Regions from separate parts of the Homo sapiens genome. Here all the other regions are linked to region 1. The links are contacts of gene promoters, found by promoter capture Hi-C in blood cells and fetal thymus (Javierre and others, 2016). All regions are on one chromosome and are shown on one strand. Each heading gives the region's core, a stretch centred on a gene start or on the middle of the fragment in contact. The rest is flanking DNA. Distances are from core to core; before and after follow the strand shown. Region 1 holds the start of FNIP2 (folliculin interacting protein 2). Region 2 has its middle 240 kb from the start of MIR3688-1. Region 3 overlaps LOC105377509 (a long non-coding RNA gene). Region 4 overlaps GASK1B (golgi associated kinase 1B). Region 5 has its middle 2.9 kb from the start of TMEM144. Region 6 has its middle 260 kb from the start of MIR3688-1. Region 7 has its middle 290 kb from the start of MIR3688-1.

What was found. The method cuts DNA at HindIII sites, captures the fragments that hold promoters and counts their contacts. A CHiCAGO score of 5 or more calls a contact.
Region 2: a fragment that was not itself captured here is called in contact with the fragment with the promoter of FNIP2 in region 1 in 1 of 17 cell types (endothelial precursors); the score reaches 8.0 in endothelial precursors.
Region 3: a contact is called between a fragment that was not itself captured here and the fragment with the promoter of FNIP2 in region 1, in 1 of 17 cell types (M1 macrophages). The highest score is 5.9, in M1 macrophages.
Region 4: a contact is called between a fragment that was not itself captured here and the fragment with the promoter of FNIP2 in region 1, in 1 of 17 cell types (M0 macrophages). The highest score is 5.9, in M0 macrophages.
Region 5: a contact is called between a fragment that was not itself captured here and the fragment with the promoter of FNIP2 in region 1, in 1 of 17 cell types (M2 macrophages). The highest score is 6.6, in M2 macrophages.
Region 6: a fragment that was not itself captured here is called in contact with the fragment with the promoter of FNIP2 in region 1 in 1 of 17 cell types (endothelial precursors); the score reaches 9.3 in endothelial precursors.
Region 7: a fragment that was not itself captured here is called in contact with the fragment with the promoter of FNIP2 in region 1 in 2 of 17 cell types (erythroblasts and endothelial precursors); the score reaches 8.9 in erythroblasts.

The regions. Positions count from the first base shown.
Region 1 is chr4:158,767,368-158,770,435 of GRCh38, forward strand. It overlaps FNIP2 (folliculin interacting protein 2), which reads left to right and starts at 1,659. Exons shown (of 17, transcript NM_020840.3): 1 at 1,659-1,952. The coding sequence starts at 1,846. RefSeq lists a silencer at 1,400-1,609 and an enhancer at 1,567-2,304. The HindIII fragment of the contact is 6,862 bases long and covers 1-3,068 here.
Region 2 is chr4:159,365,807-159,368,766 of GRCh38, forward strand. No RefSeq gene overlaps it. Among named protein-coding and RNA genes, the nearest start is that of MIR3688-1, 240 kb to the left of the region's middle. The HindIII fragment of the contact is 546 bases long and covers 1,362-1,907 here.
Region 3 is chr4:158,005,482-158,008,655 of GRCh38, forward strand. All of the region lies in intron 1 of LOC105377509 (a long non-coding RNA gene), which reads right to left. Among named protein-coding and RNA genes, the nearest start is that of GASK1B-AS1, 160 kb to the right of the region's middle. The HindIII fragment of the contact is 1,968 bases long and covers 552-2,519 here.
Region 4 is chr4:158,158,954-158,161,809 of GRCh38, forward strand. The region is part of intron 2 of GASK1B (golgi associated kinase 1B); the gene reads right to left. Among named protein-coding and RNA genes, the nearest start is that of GASK1B-AS1, 10 kb to the right of the region's middle. The HindIII fragment of the contact is 1,295 bases long and covers 771-2,065 here.
Region 5 is chr4:158,206,087-158,209,003 of GRCh38, forward strand. No RefSeq gene overlaps it. Among named protein-coding and RNA genes, the nearest start is that of TMEM144, 2.9 kb to the right of the region's middle. The HindIII fragment of the contact is 3,243 bases long and covers 1-2,917 here.
Region 6 is chr4:159,383,563-159,386,611 of GRCh38, forward strand. No RefSeq gene overlaps it. Among named protein-coding and RNA genes, the nearest start is that of MIR3688-1, 260 kb to the left of the region's middle. RefSeq lists enhancers at 1-114, 115-688. The HindIII fragment of the contact is 1,455 bases long and covers 772-2,226 here.
Region 7 is chr4:159,417,858-159,420,897 of GRCh38, forward strand. No RefSeq gene overlaps it. Among named protein-coding and RNA genes, the nearest start is that of MIR3688-1, 290 kb to the left of the region's middle. The HindIII fragment of the contact is 2,133 bases long and covers 523-2,655 here.

The DNA.
Region 1 (3,068 bases), core at 409-2,908:
CTCTTCTATATGCAGTTACAAAAGCTGCTAGGCTCATGAGGAACATGCAGATTTTAGTCTGGAGAATAAAGGACATTTTCTGACCAAGGATGGAGTAAGGAAAGGTGGTGAGTTGCTGGCCACAGTATGACCTGGGACTGTATCTGAAAGTCACAACGTATAAAGCCAATACCTTCTATATAGCATCCTGACCAACACTGGCAGCCCTATGAGGTAAAGGCCTTCAGCAAACAGAAATAGCAAAGTTGCAAATTAGGGTTCTGTGTACACTCAATTGTGCAAAAGGATGATTGCTCATCAGGATAAACACTTAATCCACCATTTTAACAGTAAAAGTCCGAAGGAAACAAATGACTAAGTTTCCATTTCTACCACCTTTCTCTTACCTTTGTGAAATTTCAGCACATTATTCACAGCTAGTTCCCAACCAAGTCCAGAAACTAACACAATTAAAAAAAGAAAATGCAAAGTAAAATAGGCCCAGAATAGGTTCTTTTGATTACTTATGTTTTTGGAAATATATTTTCCTTTTTGAGTCTCCAAGAGTCCTCCTCTCAACAAGTGTAAGAGAGCCCAGGTGAGTCACTGTTCACTACTCATGGAGAAGCTAGAAGAGGCATGGTTGGGGTCTTACTAACTTTATCTCTATTTCCCATCATCGGAAAAATTCGTGAAGCCCAACGCTCTAAAACATAGATTAAGAAGTTGCTTTGAGTCTGGTAACGTGTCCTACACTGGCTGTTTAGAGCCCTGCACCACCAAGGATTAAATTCCAAAGGGGACTGGGGTGGGACAGGGCAGGAAAGCGGACTCAAACACATGAACTCCTCCCTTCCTCAAACCAAATATCTGCTGCTGATATGCCTTGATTGACTGTTAAATATGTATTAGGAAAAACAATCCCTTGCTATAAAATATCTTAAGTTTCTAAATCTATGTAGTGAGTTCTGTGTGTGTGTGTGTGTGTGTGTGTGTGTGTGTGTGTGTATGTTTTAAAGGGGGGACTTAATATTTCAAATGCAACTTCTTATATAACCATGGTATGGTGGCCCAAGACGCCAAACAGAACAAATGATTTGGATAAACAGTTTAAATTTTGTGAAAGCCTGGAGGAATCGAATTTGGACATGGAGGAAACCTGACAAAACCTTGGGTGCTATGTGATTCAAATCACAGCCCACCGAAGCGGCCACCGCGCGTACCAAGCCTTCCCCCCTAGCATACGCCTTCTGTGAACGGGCTCTTGTACCTGAACAAAGCGAGGACCCAAGTTCAGGGGCTTTGTCTCTAAAGAACAAAGATCGGCCTAGCTGCATGCTCGCTGTGCGAAAGAACCCAGGCTCCGTGGGAACCCCACGCCACTCGCGGAGCTGCGCCCCGGCGGCCGCCCTCGCCCCTCGGGCCCCTTTAAGTGCCGCGCCTGCCCCCGTCCGCGTCCCCCGCGTGCCCGGAGTACTGGGCCGCCCGCCCGCTCCTGGCCGCACCTCCCACCTCCCGCCTCCCGCCGGGGTTACGTGAGCCCGGGGCGGGCGGCCGCCGGGCCAATGGCCGCCGCCGGGGCCGCCGCGCTCCTCCCGCGCCGCCGCCGCCGCCGTGGGGCTGCGGGCTCCTCCCGCAGGAGATAACTGTCAGCGCGCGAGGCGGTGGCGGGCCGGCTCAGTCATATGACCGGCAGCCGGCGGCTCCGGCGCCGAGCAGAGTTACTCAGTCGCAGCGGCCCCGCGCTCCCGCAAGGCTGGGCGGCCGCGCCGCCGCGATGGCCCCGCCACCGCGGCCGCCGCCCCCGGCTGCGCGCTGAGCCGCCGGCCCCCCGAGCGCCACGGCCGGAGCTGCGGCGGCGGCATCATGGCCCCGACCCTGCTCCAGAAGCTCTTCAACAAAAGGGGCAGCAGCGGCAGCTCCGCGGCGGCGTCTGCCCAGGGCAGGGCTCCTAAGGAAGGACCCGCCTTTAGGTGAGGGGGCGCCGGGGGGCAATTCTGGCGCGGGACCCGAGTTGGCTTCGGTGCTCGCCGGGGAGGGGACGGGTAGGGGAAAGGGAAGGGACTGTCCAGGACGGCGCTGCCTATCGCCGGCACCTGGTCCCGGGCTTGTCAGCGTGGACGCGCCTGATCCGAGTGTGGCTCCGGACCCTCCGTGACCCTTCCTCCCGCTCTTTCTCCACAACTCAGGGTCCTTCCCCATTTCAGAGTTCTCTTGTGTTCCTTGGGGTTCCCGGGCGTGCGCTGTGCTTGGCTGTGGCGACCGGAGATTCTCCGGTTATTGGGGTGAACCCCTTCCGGGCAGAGCCGCCTGGGCACCTCTGCGGGCCCAGCAAAGCTGTGAGCTGTCATTTTGAGGGCAGCTCCAACCTATTGTGTACGTGACAGTGTTTTGAAGTTCTGAAGGAGCAACAGTCACGAAAAAGGCATCTTTCTTCTTTCTTGCCATATATGACAAGCTCTCAAACGGATGAATGAAAGTATGTAATTTCCACATCATGTGGAAGGTTGATGCCGCATGATGTGTGGAAAGGGGGAGTAAGATGCAATTATGAAATTTCCGAGATTTCAATTGATCAAAGCTGATATGTATATTTAATAGATTTGATCTCTCGAACACATACCTTTGAATATTGATAGCATTTATGGAGAGCTTACTACCTAAAATGCTTTATGTTGATTTCTGTCGTTTACTTTTCTGACAATGCGGTGAGGTGGGTGCTATTATAATTCCCATTTTACAGGTGAGGAAACTTAAAGTCACAGATAACTTAGGCGGCTTGCCCAAAATCCAGCTGTCAGTGGTAGAGCCTGTGTTTTGACCCAAGCAGTTTGACCACAGATTCCAGTCTTTAAAATCCCTATGCTATTCTGATTTCAAGGGCTAACTTTTAAAAGACGCCTTAAAATGTCCTATATTGCCTTTGAGCACAGGTATGTTGAGAAGTTTATTTAACAATTTTTCAACACATTTTAAAATTGAGCACCAACTCCCAATTCTGACACTATGCTAGGTGCTTTTTGGCCAAAATGTCTTGCAAAAACAGTTCACTGTTAAACAGATCTAGACCCAGTATAATAAACCTTTAA
Region 2 (2,960 bases), core at 385-2,884, 600 kb after region 1:
CTCCCCGGCAGACCCCTCACTGACCCGTGAGGCAGGAGCAGAAGTTGTTCACTATAGATTATTGCTCCATCATAATATAACCAAGGAGGCTGGGCACAGTGGTTCATGCCTCTAATCCCAGCACTTTGGGAGGCTGAGGCAGGAGGATCACTTGAGGTCAGGAATTCCAGACCAGCCTGGCCAACCTAGTGAAACCCCATCTCTACTAAAAATAACAAAAATTAGCCATGCGTGGTGGCGTGCACCTGTAATCCCAGCTACTTGGGAGGCTGAGGCACAAGAATCATTTAAACCCGGGAGGTGGAGGTTGTAGTGAGCCAAGATCGCACCACTGCACTCCAGCCTGGGCAACAGAGCAAGACTCTGTCTCTAAATAAATAAATAAATAAATAATGAAAAATAACCAAATATAGATAGGGGAAGAAACAGGAAAATAATAGTGGTAAAGGAGGTGGAATAATAGCAAGGAAAAGGAGGGAAGGGAAAGGATGAGAAGAAAACAATTAAATGGTGAAATAAATTAATAAGCAAATATTCAAAAGCAAAAAAAAAGCAACACAATAGTTCATATCTGTGGTTTGGAGCAGACCCCTCCTGAGGCAGGAAAACTCTCCTCTTTGGGAAGTGAATTTCCCATTAATAATAGTTAATGTCACTCATAAATTGGAGGCTTCTGATAACAGCAAAAGATTGTATCCTTTCATTCTCAGATTGGGGTAGGTACCAGATGCTCTTACTTAATTACTTAAAGATTTAACTACATAATCTTGCCCGTGATTGCTGCACTGAGTTTACCTGGTTTGAGCTCAGAGTGGTTTACCTCATTGATTTCAAGCGTCCTTTAAGGTCAGTCATATACGATTGCACCTAAGATATTTAAATAGCTGTTTCTTTTTACTCTCATAGAGTGTGCGATCATCAGACTTCCCCCAAACCAGAGAATCTCTACTTAGCGAGTGCAATGGCTGAACTTGAACCTATATTTGAAATTTCATTTTACCCAGTCAATTCATGAGGACGCAATTTATCTGTGGATTTATATAAATACCACTATTAGAGACAAACTACTTATAAATGCTTTAAATTCATTTCTCCTTCTCCAGACCCAGAAAGGAAACCCAAATGTATCCACTTTACGCATTCAAAGCCTTGACTTTCTGAGCTAATCTTTCATAAATGGCTCTTAAGGGAGGGTCTCCTTCCTTCCTTGGGTCTCACCCAGAGGTTGCCCCTTTGCAATCCACATTGATGAAGGACATCTTCCCTGCTGGAGGACACGTTCCTGCAGGAGATTCTTTGAAGAGCAAACACCACCCTCCAGCCTTGAAATGCTGGCGCGGCTTCACTGTGTCTCTAAATCAAGCTTTGTCCACCCAGACAGGAAGACTCCACCCTGTTGTGACAGGCACAATGTGGAATTTGTGCTTCAGTGAGCTTCAGATGATTTTCAACCCCACACCTTGGATGTGTTTTTGAAACAATGTGGGATATAAATAAATAAAACATATTAACCATTGTGGTGCTTTATTCGCTCTTCAATATTTGTAAGTTGATTTCTACCATAAAAGAGTTTTTTTCTCTCCTCCCTTCCTTCTTTCCCTGCTCTCCCACCGCCCTCACCATCACCACCCACCCTGCCCTAAAAAAACAGTTCCGTTTTTGGTATTCTTCTGTGACGTTCCACACTTCATGGAAGGGTGGTTCTGCTAGTTGAAATTTTAAAATGCATCCATTCCCATTCTCCGGCTTATTCAGAATCCTCTATTGCCAAATCTTTAGGCTTTTTTCAACCCCCATTTACAACTTATGACAAGCTCATGAGTGTCTTTTCTTGCTCAAGTTCTCATCCTATCACTCTCTGCACAAAAGCCTTGGAGAATGTTCATTTCCATCCCAAGAACAAAATAAGCTTTTGCCCTTCCCCGCTTTAAAACAATTGCTCAAGGTAATGGCCACCACCATCTTACAAAATTAATTGATTAACTTTTTAGGTCAGACTGGGGTTTGTCTACTGAGAAGTTCTTGGCAGTGCAGAAAGAGCAGTCAGTCTGTTTGATGTGACACAGAAGTGTGAAGAAGACGATGTGCCTGTTTCTGTCCCAGGCGAGGAAGTTTGTATGTAAATATAGTGGGGAGAGGGTAAGAAGACAAAGATTCAAAGCAAAAAAGGGAACAGTAAATGCACACAGTGAGTGCAGTTTTACAACTAAAAAAAATATTTAAACATTTCTGATGTCAAGAAATCAGAAGGCATTTGGAAAATATTCTAACCCTTTTAAAGATATTCCAAACCATTTTCCCTGGCTTATTTCTACATAGCAACAAACTTTTATCTCTGAAAATAAACTGTCCATCTCCTGAGAAGAGATTATTTCTCTTCTGAGAACTCTTTCAGATATAAGAATGTGAAGGATTCCAGTTGTTTGGTCCTGCTTACCTTTCCTGTGACATGTGTGTATATGAAGCTGTATGGGAATCCCCATCCAGAAGTTCTCAAGAGAGGAGATGGGCTTCCATGCTTTTTTAAAAAATGTGACAGAAAGTCTGCATGAGTTTTGACCTTTTTTTTTTTTTTCCTGGTGAGGATAAAGCCAGTTTTCAACTGTGAGAAAAGTGCTCTGAGGCAAACTCGCTTTCACCACAGCTTAGCCCTGTGGCATCTCCTGCTGTGGCCATGCACCCAATAAATTCCCCTAGATGAGCAATTCCTGTAGCCTGGTCCTGGTCAGGCTGGCATGCAGGAGGGCTTCCTTCTATTACTAAAGTGGAGTCTCCAAATCACCTCTTTGGAATGTGTGAACCCTAGGGCAGGGTCCCCAACCCCTGGGCCACAGACTGGTACGGGGCCACAGGCAGGGGCTGAAGGGTGGGTAAGCAAGGGAAGCTCATCTGTATTTACAGCTGATCCCCATCGCTGGCATTACCGCTCAAGCTCCGTCTCCTGTCAGACCAGCAGCGGC
Region 3 (3,174 bases), core at 286-2,785, 760 kb before region 1:
GTATTTTCTATCAATGTGTTTTGCATATGACAAAGATAAACTCTCTACTTGTTTGATGATGCTTGATGACCATGAGGAACTACACCCAGACCTGATGAGAAGGAATTAATATTGACCAGAGGCCATAGACTTGGAGTGAATGTAGTAACTGGGAAAAAGGAATTTAAGAATAAGGTTCTGTTTGTACTTTTGCTAGCCTAAGGGATGGATTATAGTTTTTTTTTTTAATTTGCCAGGACCCATGCCCCCTATATTATTCAAATGTAGCTCTATTCTCAACTTCAATGGTAAAGTAGCACCATACACCTGGCCAAATGGTGCAGAGCAGCATTGGATCAGGAATGGGCAAGTGACCAAACTGATTCAATGAGAAGAAATTACAGGTCAAACATGGAAGGGACCTGGTTCAGGATACAAGGCAAAGGCCCATTTTATGATGAGGAGAGTCTGTAGCTGAATATGAACCCAACAGAGGGGAAGCAGAGCTCAACGATGAAGAGAAAGAAACTGAGTCTTACTAATTGCATCAGACCCTGAATTGAGAGACTGAAAGCTTACATTTATCTAACTCTGGATTTTTCAGTAACATAAGCTAATTAATTATCTTTTTAGTTAGACACGCTTGAGATTGAATTTGCATTCACTTTGAACAGGAAAATAAAATCCCAACTAACTTTCTGAATTTATTTCTCCCTCCCCCTTGCACAATTTTATACCATAGCCACACCAAGCATAACCAATATTTTCACCTTTTAGAGACTTGGTTCTTATTAGGCTTCTGACTGGATGTTTATTTCTCTTCCCTCCCTGGAAAACTTCTATTTACCCACTAAAGCTCAGCTATCTGTTTTCTTCCTTTGTAAAGACCTCTCCAAACTTCTAAACAGATTCATATGTTTCCAAAGTCATCATCATTTCTAAGACTACAACAAAAACATGTGATCTGCTGTGTATGTCTCTCACATATGATACAGAGGTTTCGTCAATCAGCGATGGGGTTTTGTTTTTCACACTGTATTTGTTATTTTGGCTTTAAGCAGAAAATTACTATACAGGATTTAGAATAATTTGTAACAAGGCATTGGCAATAGCAGTTATACTGTTATTTCCAAAATGTGTGGTCCTTTTGAAAATCTTTAAGTATACTACTTCTTTTCTAAGCAAGAAAGTTATAATTCTTGAATAACTATGCTTATTTGTAATATTTTCACACAGAGTAGAAACTGGAGTGTTACGGCCTAAATATATTCAAATTTTGTGTGCTTTGTCTCTGTTGAGTTCCACCAGAATTTCTTTTTTTCTTTTCATTTACTCCTATATCAGTACTTCAGTTGGCTAAAAATAACACTTTGCTGAAGGCTCATAAACAAGAGTATTTTAAGGCGGACAACAAACTATTTTTAAGGTGCATGTTTTAAATGCCTGACTTTGGATGATGTGCCACCTACTTTAATGCTCAAAAGAAAAAGTGACACAACTGTAGAAATAATTATCAAACTATTTTAAGTATTATACTGGTGGCCAAAAGAGAGAACATTTATTTTTAAGTTAGGATGTTACAAAAAATCATATCCTCTTTTTCCTTGAGTTCAAGTTTCATATGGTGTTTTATAAGCTGTTTTTCTTATGCTTATGGCACAATGCTAACTGTTTTTATTAGGAAATGGCCTCCTGGCTAAGTGCCTACTCATTGTATTACAGCATTTTCCCTCAGCTGTAGCAGAACAACAAACCAACAAGTTCACACTTCCTTATTAATTCTGGAAAACCCTTACCATGCATAACACAGCATGAACCTTTTTATATCTTGACAATTGCTGGAAGTGTTTTATTTTATAACAGAATTTTAAGAATATCCTAATTAAATAGCAAACAGTGGTTACTATGGAAACCATGTTCATAAGTTTTATAATTGTCTTTAAAAATGTTAATTGTCTTCCAAAGCTGTGACTTAGGCTATTAATAACTTGTAAACCTGTTGTTTTTCTCTTCTCAGTGGTTTCTTGCTTTTTGAATACAGCATTATAGTTTGATGAAAGATGATATAAGTGATCATCTTTAAATTATTGATGTTTCCCACAATTTATGGGAACAATTCAAATCTCTTAAGTCGGTTCAATTATGTTTAGCCTAAGGCCATCTCCTTACATATTTTAAGTTCACCCTAAATGTTTCTCTGTACATCCTGAACTATAAACTAAATGGAGTTGTAACCTACTCTTAGGCCAATCACCAAGTTTTGGCCAATCAGATGTGGCCAACTGTTCAAACCCTGTTCAAATAAGGCAAACACCAAGCTGTAACCAACCTAGCTGTTTCTGCACCTCACTTATGTTTTCTGTACATCACTTTGCTTTTTCTGTCCCTACATCCGTGGCTGTGCTGAAGTCATGGAGCCTACTCTGGCTCAGGAGGCTGCTGATTCATGATTCACGAATAGTTCTTTGCTCTATTAAACTCTCTTAAATTTAATTCAACTAAAGTTTTTCTTTTAACAAGTCTTAAAAGTGAAGCTGGGAAGCTTGCACCTATTAGCATCCAAATGGAAACACTTACTTGTGCTTGGGATAGAAACAATGTCAAAATAAGGAAAAGTGTGGATTAATAGAAAATAGATCTTTAGTGTATTCCTACTTTAGTTGCCATCCATTTGCTCCTCCATTTTCTATATTTGTATAGGTTAGAACCTCACACTTTGTATGTTAAATATTTGCAATGCCATGTAAAAGAAAGAACCTGGACATATACTAGTCTGCATTTGATTTCTGACTTCCTGTCTATGTGACTTTATTCAGTTAATTTAATTTTTCTCAACTTCAATTCCATTGAATACAAAATGGGAAATTGATACTTTTTGTATAAATTTGTTATGAATATATTAGAGAAAATGAATTGCACATAAACAAAAGCCTAGTGACAAATAAATGGCACTCATAACAGATCCGCAACTAAACATCAACAACAACAGTAATTATCAATTGTGAGTACTTTCTTTGAGCCGCATCTTTACAAATGCTATCTATTTCAGCTGTCAGGTAAAGATTAGCAAATGCTATTGCCTTGTTTTTGCTGCTGTTTTGTTTTGCCCTTATTGCCCCAAGTTTACACATAATATATTCTCTTAAGTTAAATTTTTAGATTGGGAGAAAAGGTCACTGATATTCTGGAAAGAAA
Region 4 (2,856 bases), core at 168-2,667, 610 kb before region 1:
ATGGGTATGCTGTATGTCAGTCACCATTTCTCTATTTTAGATCACCAAATTTTTGGAATGATACATTTTCTATACTAATCATTAAAAAGGTGTCCTCAAACTGCCAAATAAAGTGTTCAGCTGATAAGTATAATTGGTTTTCAATTAATAGCCTATGTTTTTCTCCCAATTCATCCATTTCCCCTCAGCAAAATATTTTGAATGCCAACTATCGCATAAAGACATTCTTTCCTGCCCTGCTAGAAATCAGTGCACCTCAGGAAAGGGGATTTCCAGAGAACAAGAAGAAAGCATGGTGAGCAGTAAGACAGACTGAGTCACAGATGGCTGTGGTTCCTTTCCACATACAGGCCTTCTTGCTACATATACGTGTGTGTGGCCCTTGCAGGTAATAATAGCAGTCAGCATAACTCCAGATCTCAGAGCAATGAGTACTACTGTTGAGGAGAATTCCACCTCTTTTAATATAAGGCTTTTGAAAGAATTAAATGAACCTGGATGGATTTGAAGAGATGACAGAAAAATTGCCTCTGAAAACAGGAAACTGGTTAAAGCAACTTACCCTGAAGTGTTTCAGAGATGAGAAGCATTCATCTCTCCACATTCAGGTTTGTCAAAATGATGCAGTACTGGACTCTCTAGAGAAATCTCAACAAGTGAAGAGATAAAATTCTGTCACAGTGGTGAGAAAGCGGGTTTTAAAAGATATGTGGGTGTTCATGTGAATTAAAGGTTATATAGCTGTCCTAAAAAATGAGACTTGCCAGGAAAGCTTCTTTTTTTCTGAAATCTGAATATTTCCGCTGAATTTGGTGCTCTCCCAAGTCGTTTTTTATTCAAAAGCACAAAGAAGACATTCTTCTGAGAAGATGAACATGAAAATTCACTTAGAATGAGTGCTTTACACAATCTTCTTTGTCTAGATTTATTAAATGCCCTTCACTTTGAGCACTGGCTGAGCGGTTTTGTGGAATTATAGGTGAATGCTAAGCATGTTGGGTGGAGCTATGAATGTCTGTGAGCATTTGTCACTGAGCAAAAATAAGAAGAAAAGTCTTGAGCTCTGAAATCAAAAGTTCTTTCTCTTGCACGGGCCATGTTCCAAGACTCCTTGTGAACAAGATAAAAAGCAAGTGACAGTCCAGCTCCAGTCCTTCATTAAAAACAACTCTATAATACCCATTGAAGAAAACAAAAGCCAGTCAAACTTGAGTGGCATCTTTGTTATAGGAAACAAATTCTGTTGGGCCCCATCACAACTGTCAACAACGCATTGAAGGAAAACTTTAATGCGAAAAGAAATAAACCTCCATAAGGTTTTCATGATTTTTAAAAACAGTAGGTGGGGAGGTAGGAGTCTGTAGATTACATAGGCATAGATTTTATATGGCCAAACAAGTCCTGAATCTAGGGACTTGTCCTGGAGCAAATTAAAACCACAATAAGATATGACTTCACCCCTGTTAGAAGGGCTATGATCAAAAAGACAAAAAGATTACAAGTGTTGGTGAGGGTTTGGAGAAAAGGGAACCCTTAGCACTGCTGGTTGGAATATGCATTAATACAGCCATGATGGGAAACAGTATGAAAGTTTCTCAGGAAACTAAAAATAGAATTACCATACTATCCAGTAATCCTAATTCTGGGTATCTATCCAAAGGAATTGAAATCAGTATGCCGAAGAGATGTCTGCACTCCCATGTTCACTGCAGCACTACTTATAATAGCTAAGATATGGAAGCAACCTAGGTGTCCATCATCAGAAAATGGATAAGAAAAATGTGTTTTGTTACGTAAACATAATGGAGTACTATTATTCACCCTTTAAAAAGGGAGAAATCCTGTCATTTGTGACAACATGGATGAAACTGGATGACACTATTTTAAGCAAAATAATACAGGCACAGAAAGACAAATACTGCATGACCTCTCTTATATGTGGAATCTAAAAAAGTTGAGCTCAAAAGTAGAGAGTAGAATGGTGGCTACCAGAGGCTGGGAGAGGGGGTTAGATGGGAAAAGTGTTGATCAACAGGTACAAAGTTTCGGTTAGACAGGAGGGATAAGCTTTAGTGATCTATTGCACAGAATGGTGACTATAATAATAATATAACGTATATATCAAAATTACTAAAAGAATATATTTACAATGTTTCACCCAAAAAAAATCATCCTATGATTTGAAGAAGCCTAAAAAATAAATTAGTTAAAATTTAAATTTAAAAAAATAAGTAAGGTGATGGATTTTTAAATTAGCCTAATTTAATAATTCCACATTGTAAACATATATCAAATAATCACATTGTGCCCATAAACATATACAAATATTATTTTTCAACTTAAAATTAAATTAAATAATAAAAAAGAAACAGGTCTCTGCGTGATTCCAAATATGTTTCATATATTTATTTATCTAACTGTTTTTCACTTCATAGTTTGTTTTCTCTAGGCCTAACTGAGTTAAAATAATCTCCATACTTCCTCAGGAGTTAGCTAAGTGTGAAGTCAAGGAAGCAGGAAAGGAGAATGTCTTGTGACTTCATTCATCACCAACTACCTAAACAACTTAAATCGCCAGTTCTCCTCTGAAAACAAGGCATTCTTCTTTGTTCTGACAAATGGGCAGGAACTTCTGCTTTCTAGGTCTGCCCTGAACTTCTGCTGTATAAATGGAAACTCCAAGACTCTTCCTGTCTCAATATTCCACTTTAAAAAACAGGAATCAAATTTGACTTCAGAGGGTGGTGATGATGTGGTCACTGTGCCAGACTCTACAATCACATTTTGCAGATGAAATCTTGGTCACATCAGGGTGACTCAGTCCTGGGCGATTTAGCCTTTGTTAATCCAGTTAAA
Region 5 (2,917 bases), core at 80-2,579, 560 kb before region 1:
GGTACTGTATAAAAGATTATTCCCAGTGCCTCTCTCCTGTTCCTTAAAGCATTGCTGTCATTTATTTCATTTATTCATAAACTAATATCACCCAATATATTACTGATATTATTATTTTGAAGTTATCTATGCGATCAATTAAGAATAAGAAACAAATTATAGGTTGGTGGATTTTTCTTTCAACACTCTAAATATTTCACTCTACTCTCTTTTTCCTTGCATGGTGTCTGAGAAGTCTGATTAATTCTCATCCTTGTTCCTTATAAGTAAGGTGATAGTTTTTCCTCTGACTCCTTTCAATATTTTCTCTTTATTTTCCACAATTTGTATACAATATGCCTACATGTAGTTTTTTTAAAATTTATCTTGCTTGGTGTTATCTGATCTTCCTGGATCTGTGGTTTGATGTCTGTTATTAATTTTAGAAAGTTGTCCACCATTATTAGATACCTAGATAACTATTATTTATGTATCTTCTGCTGCTTTCTTTCTTTTCCTTCTGGTATTGCTATTACCTGTATTTTATGCCTTTTGTAATTTTCATACAGTTCTTGGAAATTGTGTTTCTTTTTCCTATTCTGTTTTCTGTTTCCATTTAAGTTTGGGAAGTTTCAACTGACATACCTTCAAGCTCACTGATTCTTTTGCAGCTATCAAAAGTGATTCTCTTTTCTATTGTAGTATTTTTTGTTCTCTAACATTTCCTTTTGATTCTTTGAGTTTTCATCTTTCTGTTTATTCGTTCTTGCACTTTTCCCAGTTGATCTCTTAGCATATTAGTCATAGCATATTTTAAATTTCCAGTCTCATAATTCCCAAATCCCTGCCATATCTGAATCTGGTTCTGAGGCTTGCTTTGACATTTCAGAGCTGTGTTTTTTCTTGCCTTTTAGCATGCCTTATAATTGTTCATTGAAAGTGAGGCATGATGTATCAGATAATAGAAAACAAGATAAGTAGACCTTTAGTTTTTATGTGTATTGGGCCAGAAGTTAGACTGTGCTTAATGGTTGTTGTAGCTGTAAGTATCAGAGGCTTCTATTTTCTCTAATATCTTTCTTTTTGTCTCCCCTATTTGTTGTCTTTGGGTTTTCCTAGAGACTCATTTTTAAGCAGAGTCTGTGTCTTGCAACTCTCTCTAGTTGTGATCCACAGTTATTATACCAAAACACTATTTATGTGGTCGTAAGATATTGGAGAGTTGATACATTCTATAATGTTATGATAAAATCTCTATTTTTAAATTCTTATTTCTTTTTAAACAATTTTAGATTCAGGAGGCACATGTGCAGGTTTCCTACATGGATAGATTCTGTAATGGTGAGGTTTGGGCTTCTAGTAAACCCATCACCCAAATAGTAAACATTACAGCCAATAGATAATTTTCAATCTGCTCTCCTCTCCCACGTTTCCCTGTTTTGGAGTCCCTAGCATCTATTATTTTACCTTTATGTCCATGTGTACCCATTGTTTAGCTCCCACTTATAAGTGAGAACATGCAGTACTTGATTTTCTGTCTGAGTTATTTCACTTAGGATAATGGCCTCTAGCTCCATTCATGTTGCTGCAAAGGACATGATTTCACTCCTTTTTATGGCTGCGTAATATTCCATAGTTTATATATACCACATCTTCTTTATCCAATCAACTACTGATGGACACTTAGGATGATTCCTAATTGTGAATAGTACCCCAATAAATATATGAGTGCCAGTGTCATTGATTATAACAATTTCTTTTCCTTCAAGTAGATACCCAATAGTGGGATTGCTGGGCCAAATGGTACTTCTATTTTCAGTTATTTGAGAAATCCCCATACTGTTTTCCGTAGGGGTTTTACTAGTTTACATTGTCATTAACAGTATATACGCATTCCCTTTTCTCTGTATCTTTGCCAACATCTAAAACTCTGTTTTCTAGTTGTCCAGAATCCCTGAGCTGTGAACTTCATAAGGGTTTCTTCTTTTGTTTTTCTCCTTATGTGAGAAAGAAAGTGTAGAAGGTGTTCAAACTGTCTAGTTGCCTTTTCTCTAATTCAGATAAAGCTCTGGGGTAAAGTTTACCTTGAGGACAGGCTTTTGTTTCTGAGTATATTTCAAATAGTTATTGTTTTCCTCCCACATGCCAGAAAAAAGAGGAAACTTTTGTCCTGTCTTCTGAAAGTAAAACTCATTAATGTGTGGATGCTCCCATATGAATGACTCCCACTGTCTCTGAGTTTTCAACTCTCAAGTTAGTCCACACTCAGCCTTCAGCAATAGGCCAAATACTGTATAAATGCCCCCCTATCCTTTACTGGCTCCAGTGGCTTTTGCTGTCCTGATAAGCTGTAATTCTCCGTATTCACCTATTTCTTCAGTTTGCAAAGAGGTGGCATGTCCTATGACATCAATTCTCTGCAGATCTAAAAAGAGTAGTTGATTTTTGATTTGCTCATTTTTTTCTTGTTGTGATGATGGAAGTGGAGACTTTCACACCTTTCAAATGTCAGAGCAGAAACCAGAAGTCCTAGTAATAATGTTATATATATATATATATATATATATATATATATATATATATATATATATATATCTCTTTTGACCACATAAAAGGGGGAGGTGCACAGGTCTTATTATTATCATTTTACATATAAGAAAACTAAGGTTTAAAGAGATTAAATGAGTTTCCATGAGAAATATTGCTAACAGACGAAGCTAAAGTCAGAACCTGGATCTTCTAGTGTCTGCCAGGACTCTCCCAATACAGACCATTCTGTTTAGGCATTCATGTATACGAAACAATTTGAAAGAAAAATTTTAGTTTAAGAATAGAGTCATGCATGTTTGGATTTGCTCTGTGGCATAATGTAAAAGGCAATGGCCTAGCATATCCCTAATGAATCTTCTCAGGCCTAATTCAGCCCCCAACTCACTTT
Region 6 (3,049 bases), core at 249-2,748, 620 kb after region 1:
AAAATTTAGCAACGCTTGGCTTGAAATGGCATCCATGTTTTGTTATGGTAATTTTTTATTTTTAAATGCAGAAGTGATTTAGTAGTAAAATCCTGCTTGCTGGTTAGAGGTCGTGGGAATGCCTCTCCATCTGAATGGAAAGAAATTGGTTTTAAATTATTAGATGGCCAAAGGCTTATAGAGAGTGGAGTTAGAGAAGCAGCTTATGACCTTCACCTACACTTGAACTGGAATGGTAATCTACATTTCCAAAGGCACTAAGCGTTCCAATTTAAATTTCTGTGGTGACACTTGAAAAGATTGATCATTCTATCCTGAGAGGAGATGAAGGAATGAGGGTGAGGGGTTATGAGCAGGCAACACTGCCTGCTCAGTAGGAGCTGACAATCAACTAGGATAGCCCCAATTTCCTGTTGCAATATTTAACTCACTTTTGTGTTTACATTTGATAAACACAAGTTTAGAGATTCAAGAATTAGAACATCTCTTGTCTCACTCCAGCTACAAATATTGATTAAAATGGGAAAGATTGTTTATTGTAAATTGCATTTATCTTCATGATGTGGGAACAATGTAGGTTTTCAATGAATGCTTCTTTGTGTGTGAAAGATATGTGAATAAACCAATTTCAATTTTTTTTTAATTTTTAATTATTAATTTTAAATTGACAATAATAATTGCATAATATTTATGTGGTACAATGATGTCTTAATGTATGTGTGCATTGTGGAATGAGCAGACCAGGCTAATTAACATATTCATCACCTCACAAGCTTATCATTTCTCTGCAGGGCAAACATTTATAAACTACTCTTTTGGCAATTTTAAAATATACAATACATTATTGTTAACTGTAGCCACTTTGATATGCAATAGATCACTAGAACTTATTCTTCCTAACTAAAACGGCCTAATTTCGAAATTCTGAAATCTTACTTTACATTTTACTTTGTATTTTTAGAATGTAATATCTTTGAAGGCAGTGATATGTTTCCTTCAAAGACTTTAATGAATGCAGTGTGTCAAAAATACACTGATTAATGTGGATACATAATAATGATGTCACAGTTTTGTCAGGCTCATAGTCTCCCCTATTGAATAACATAAACCTGAGAAAATGATGAGATAAAGCTGATTTTTTTCAAGATGAGAAGGAAGAAAATTTGGATATTTAAGAATTTAAAATAAAATGACAAATTAATCCTTCAGAATTATGTTTGAGAATGCTAAAAATTAGCCTTTCTTGAGTAAAAAACAAAAGTGTATGTCAGAAGAGACCTCTTGTGTGTATAATAGCTTACTGCAGTTTCTTTAAAAAAAAAAAATCCACTTCTGGAAGATAGAATGAATATACTATTCCCAAAGCCCAACCCTTAAGGAGGCCAATGCCTTATCCATTGAATGAATGTACTATTCCCTATTGCTTTCACAAAGTACAACTACAAACCCTAGACTTTACATATTAAACAAGCATATGATGACTCTGAAAGGTGGAGAAGGCTGACTGGCTGGAGACCACAGGACCAGAGGCAGTGTGTTCCCTGGGTTTTCTTTTTAACTCACATATCCCAGACTCATAGATAAAGAAACTCGTAACCCCGAAATACCAATGAATGCACGCCAAACAAAACAAAACAAAACAAAAATTACCAAAAGCCTGCCCTCTCCAGCTGAAAGAACAAGAGATGGGTAGCTAATGAGACAGATAATGATTAGACAGGCTGGGCGCAGTGGCTCACGCTTGTAATCCCAGAACTTTGGGAGGCCAAGGTGGGTGGATAGCTCGAGCTCAGGAGTTCAAGACCAGCCTGCTGGGCAACATAGCAAGACACCATCTCTATTTAAAAAAAATATATGTACACACACACACACACACACACACACACACACACACACATAAAAATACATATATGAGACAAAGATTGGACAATAACTGCTCCACTCCAGCCAAACACCACAGAAAAAATGTTAGCCCCACTCCCAGTGAAAGCTCAAGAGGAAGCAGACTTGCACTGTCCCCAGGATGTAATGGCAGTAGCACCAGCCTCCACCTCCCACTCTCTCACTGGACAAGTGTCAGAGAAAACTGAGTAGGGAGATGGAACTTTCATCCCTCTCATGCAGTGTCAGTGGATACCACATGGATTTCCACACCTATCCAGTGGTAATGAGATGCCTTTGCCCCTTCCTTCTAGGGTGGCCTCAAAGGAGACCTACTGGAGACAAAGCTTTCACCTAAGCCACTTCTCCAACATAATGTCAGGCCAAGAGGGGAGCAGTAATAAGGTTCTTCTACCCCTCCCAGCCAGGAGTAGAGGCTGAATGCGAAGCAGGACTTCCACTCTCACCTAACAGTCATGAGTAGCCCCTCCCCTCAGGTCTCAGTGGGAGCCAGGTGGGAACCTGAAACTTGACCTCATCTGGCAGTAATCAGGCAGCTCACTCCCCACTCCCATTTTCCTTTGCAAGAAATTTAAATAAGATCCCAAACCTCAATATAATACACAAATATCTAGGTTTTAATAGAAAAATCACTCATACCAAGAATAAAGAAGACCTCAAACTGAATGAAAAAAAGATAATAAATAGATCCTAACACTGAAACGACAGCAATGTTAGAATTATCTGATAAAGGTCTCAAGGAAATCATCATATGTTTCAGTAAGCATTATAAACATGCTTGAAACAAATAAAAAATAGACAGTATTATATCAGCAAAGAAATAAAAGATATACAAAAAGATAAATGAAAAGTTTAGAACTGAAAAATATAATAGCTAAAATTCAGTGAATGGACTCAAAACAGTATAGAGGGGACAGAGGAAAGAAATAATGAACTTGAAGATAGGACAATAGAAATTACCCAATCTGAAGAACAGAGAGAAAAAGATTGAAAAACAAACAAACAAAAAAAAAGAACAAACCTCAGGGAATTATGGGACTATAAAGATTTAACATTCTTGGTATCAGAGTTCTAAAAGGAGAAGAGTAAGAGGATGGAGCTCAAAAAATATTGAAGAAATAATGGCTGAAAACTACCCAGACCTACA
Region 7 (3,040 bases), core at 339-2,838, 650 kb after region 1:
AAAGAAGCCAGGGTTGAGCTCAGATGTCAAGAAATAAAGCAGGTTGAGTAAATATGGCTGGAAAAGAATGTTGGGTGTGCATACTGGCACATGAAACAGACTATAGGAAATACAACAGGGTCAGGCAAGTGACTCATGCCTGTAATCCCAGCACTTTGGGAGGTCTTGGGGAGGTTGGATCATTTGTGGCCAGGAGTTTAAGACTAGCCTGGCCAACATGGCAAAACCCAATGTTTACTAAAAATAGAAAAAAATGTGCTGGGCAGAGTGGCACATTCCTGCAATCCCAGCTACTTGGGAGGCTGAGGCAGGAGAATTGCTTGAACCTGGGAGTCAGAGGTTGCAGTGAGCTTAGATCGCACCACTGCACTCCAGCCTGAGTGACAGAGTGAGACTCTGTCTCAAAAAACAAAACACAAAAAAACAAAAAACAAACCAACAACAACAACAAAAAAAACTAGAAGCCTACTAAGATTTCAAGGGAATTGTATTGCCAAAGAAATAACAAGCTTAGCTTGTAAAAGCTTGTTATTGCTGAATCCCAAACCAGTTCCAAAGTATGGCATACTGCCCAATCTACTTTAAATTTGGCCTTGGTAGTAACGGTTGAGAAAGTACCTTTTATTATGCACATCTGGGTCCCCAGAGGACATGAGAGTTATTTCCAGGTAGCAAACTGGGCTAAGCAGACTATTTCACTGCTACAGTAAATTCTTTGATTTTTCTGTCTAGCAGGATTTGATCACTCCTGTGCACCAGAGACCTCTCTGTATTTCCTACCTTTCCCTTATTGAATTGTTAAACAAAATGATAGGAAGCCATTGTTCTGAACTGACTTCTTGCACTAGGCGCTGACAGACCAAAACAAAATGAAACCATTCATGCTAAATGTTATGTGATCAAACTGAAACTTTTAAAAAGCAGATAAATCCCAAAATGGACCAGGTTTTTTTTTTTCTGTCTTCTTAAAACAGGAGATTCCAGCATAATAAGGAGGGCCCCTCTGCTCTATTCCTTACAAAAAGTAGTCTGAAACAACCATTTTTTCCCTATTGTTCTTTGTCCTTGTTCCCAGCTTACAAAACCCACTGTTCTATTTCCCAGTGGGATTTGAGACCAAATAAATGGATTTATAATGGTGAAAGAGTGAAGTCAATGCTTAAAGTTTTGGTCAATCTCTCAAAATTGCCTACAGCTACCTCCTTACATATTTTAAGTTCAGCCTAAATTTTCTCCATATATAGTGAACTATAATCCAGCTGAATGCATGAACAGACTGTAATCTACTCTTTTTTTTTTTTTGAGATGGAGTCTTGCTCTGTTGCCCAGGCTGGAGTGTAGTGGCGCGATCTTGGCTCACTGCAAGCTCCGCCTCCCAGGTTCATGCCATTCTCCTGCCTCAGCCTCCCAAGTAGCTGGGACCACAGACACCCGCCACCACACCCGGCTAATTTTTTTTTTTTGTATGTTTAGTAGAGACGGGGTTTCACCATGTTAGCCAGGATGGTCTGGATCTCCTGACCTCGTGATCCGCCCGCCTCGGCCTCCCAGAGTGCTGGGATTACAGGTGTGAGCCACCGTGCCTGGCCTGTAATCTACTCTTACACCAATCTCAGTTTTGGCCAGTCACAGGTGGTCAGCTGTTTAAACCATGTTCAAATAAAGCAAATGCCAGGCTGTAACCAATCTAACTGTTTCTGTACCTTGCCTTCTTTTTTCTGTCCTTAAGTATTATCTGACCATGTGGCATCCCCAGAGTTGTGCTGAACCTATTCTGAATTATTCTTTGCTCAGTTAAACTCTGTTAAATTTAATTATTTGCCTTAAGTTTTCCTTTTAACAAAAGTGGGAGTTTTATCATGGTTATCTTGTTTCTGCTCCATCCTTGGATATTGGATGTGGTGTGGAGTAGGGCAGGAAAATTGGGCAGATTAAAAATGTCTTTGGCCAAGCATGGTGACTCACACCTGTAAACTCAGCACTTTGGGATGCTGAGGTAGTAGGCTGTCTTGAATCCAGGAGTTCAAGACCAGCTTGGGCAACATAGTGAGGCCCCATCTCCATAAAAAATTTTTAAAAATTAGCCTGGTGTGATGGTGCACACTGGTAGTCCCAGCTACTCAGGAGGCTGTGGTGGGAGTATTGCTTGAGCCCAGGAGGTCGAGGCTGCAGTGAGCCATGATTGTGCCACTGCACTCCAGCCTGAGTGACACAGCGAGGGAGGAGGAAAGGAAAATAGTTTGGCAGACAGCTAAAGTTGGTCTTTGGTAAAATTCTTTTAAACAGAAAGACATCCTGAAGAATCAACCTACAGGCACGCATAAAGCCACCTGGGGAAATCTCAGGCTGTAGCTGCACAGATAAGAAAGCAAGGCCTAACATAGAAGCCTTCATTCTTAGTGTAATTGTGGGCTCCCAGGAAAAAGTTTCCTCCCCTTTTCAGGTATGTACACAGTGGGCTCTGGGGGAACTTGCATGGGGAGCAGGGGTTCTTACTCAAAACATACACACCATTGCACAAACAAGAGAAACTGCACTTTGTGCCTGCCTAAAGACGTGCTTTCAGCTGTACAGATAAGGGGAGTTACACAGACAGCTTCACAGATAAGGGAAGTTACACAAACAGCTGCAGAAATGAGGGGAGTTTCTTACAAAAGCTTTTGGATTCAGCTATAAAAATGGCAACCCACTTTTGGGCCCCCTCTCCGCTGCAGAGAGCGTTCTTTTGTTTATTAAACTTTCGTTCCAACTTCATCCTTGTGTCTATGCACCTTAATTTTCTTGGCCGTGAGACAAAGAACTCCAGGTACTACCTCAGACAACAAGACCGTAACATTGTAGTGCATTGGCAAGACCGCAACAACAGCAATGAGGGCTGACAACGTGCTAGCAGCCCTCGCTCGCTCTCAGCACCTCCTTGGCCTCGGTGTCCACTCTGGCCCCACTTGAGGAGCCCTTCAGCCCCCCACTGCGCTGTGGGGGCCCCTCTCTGGGGCTGACCGAGGGTGGAGCCAGCTCCCTCTGCTTGTGGGGAGGCGTG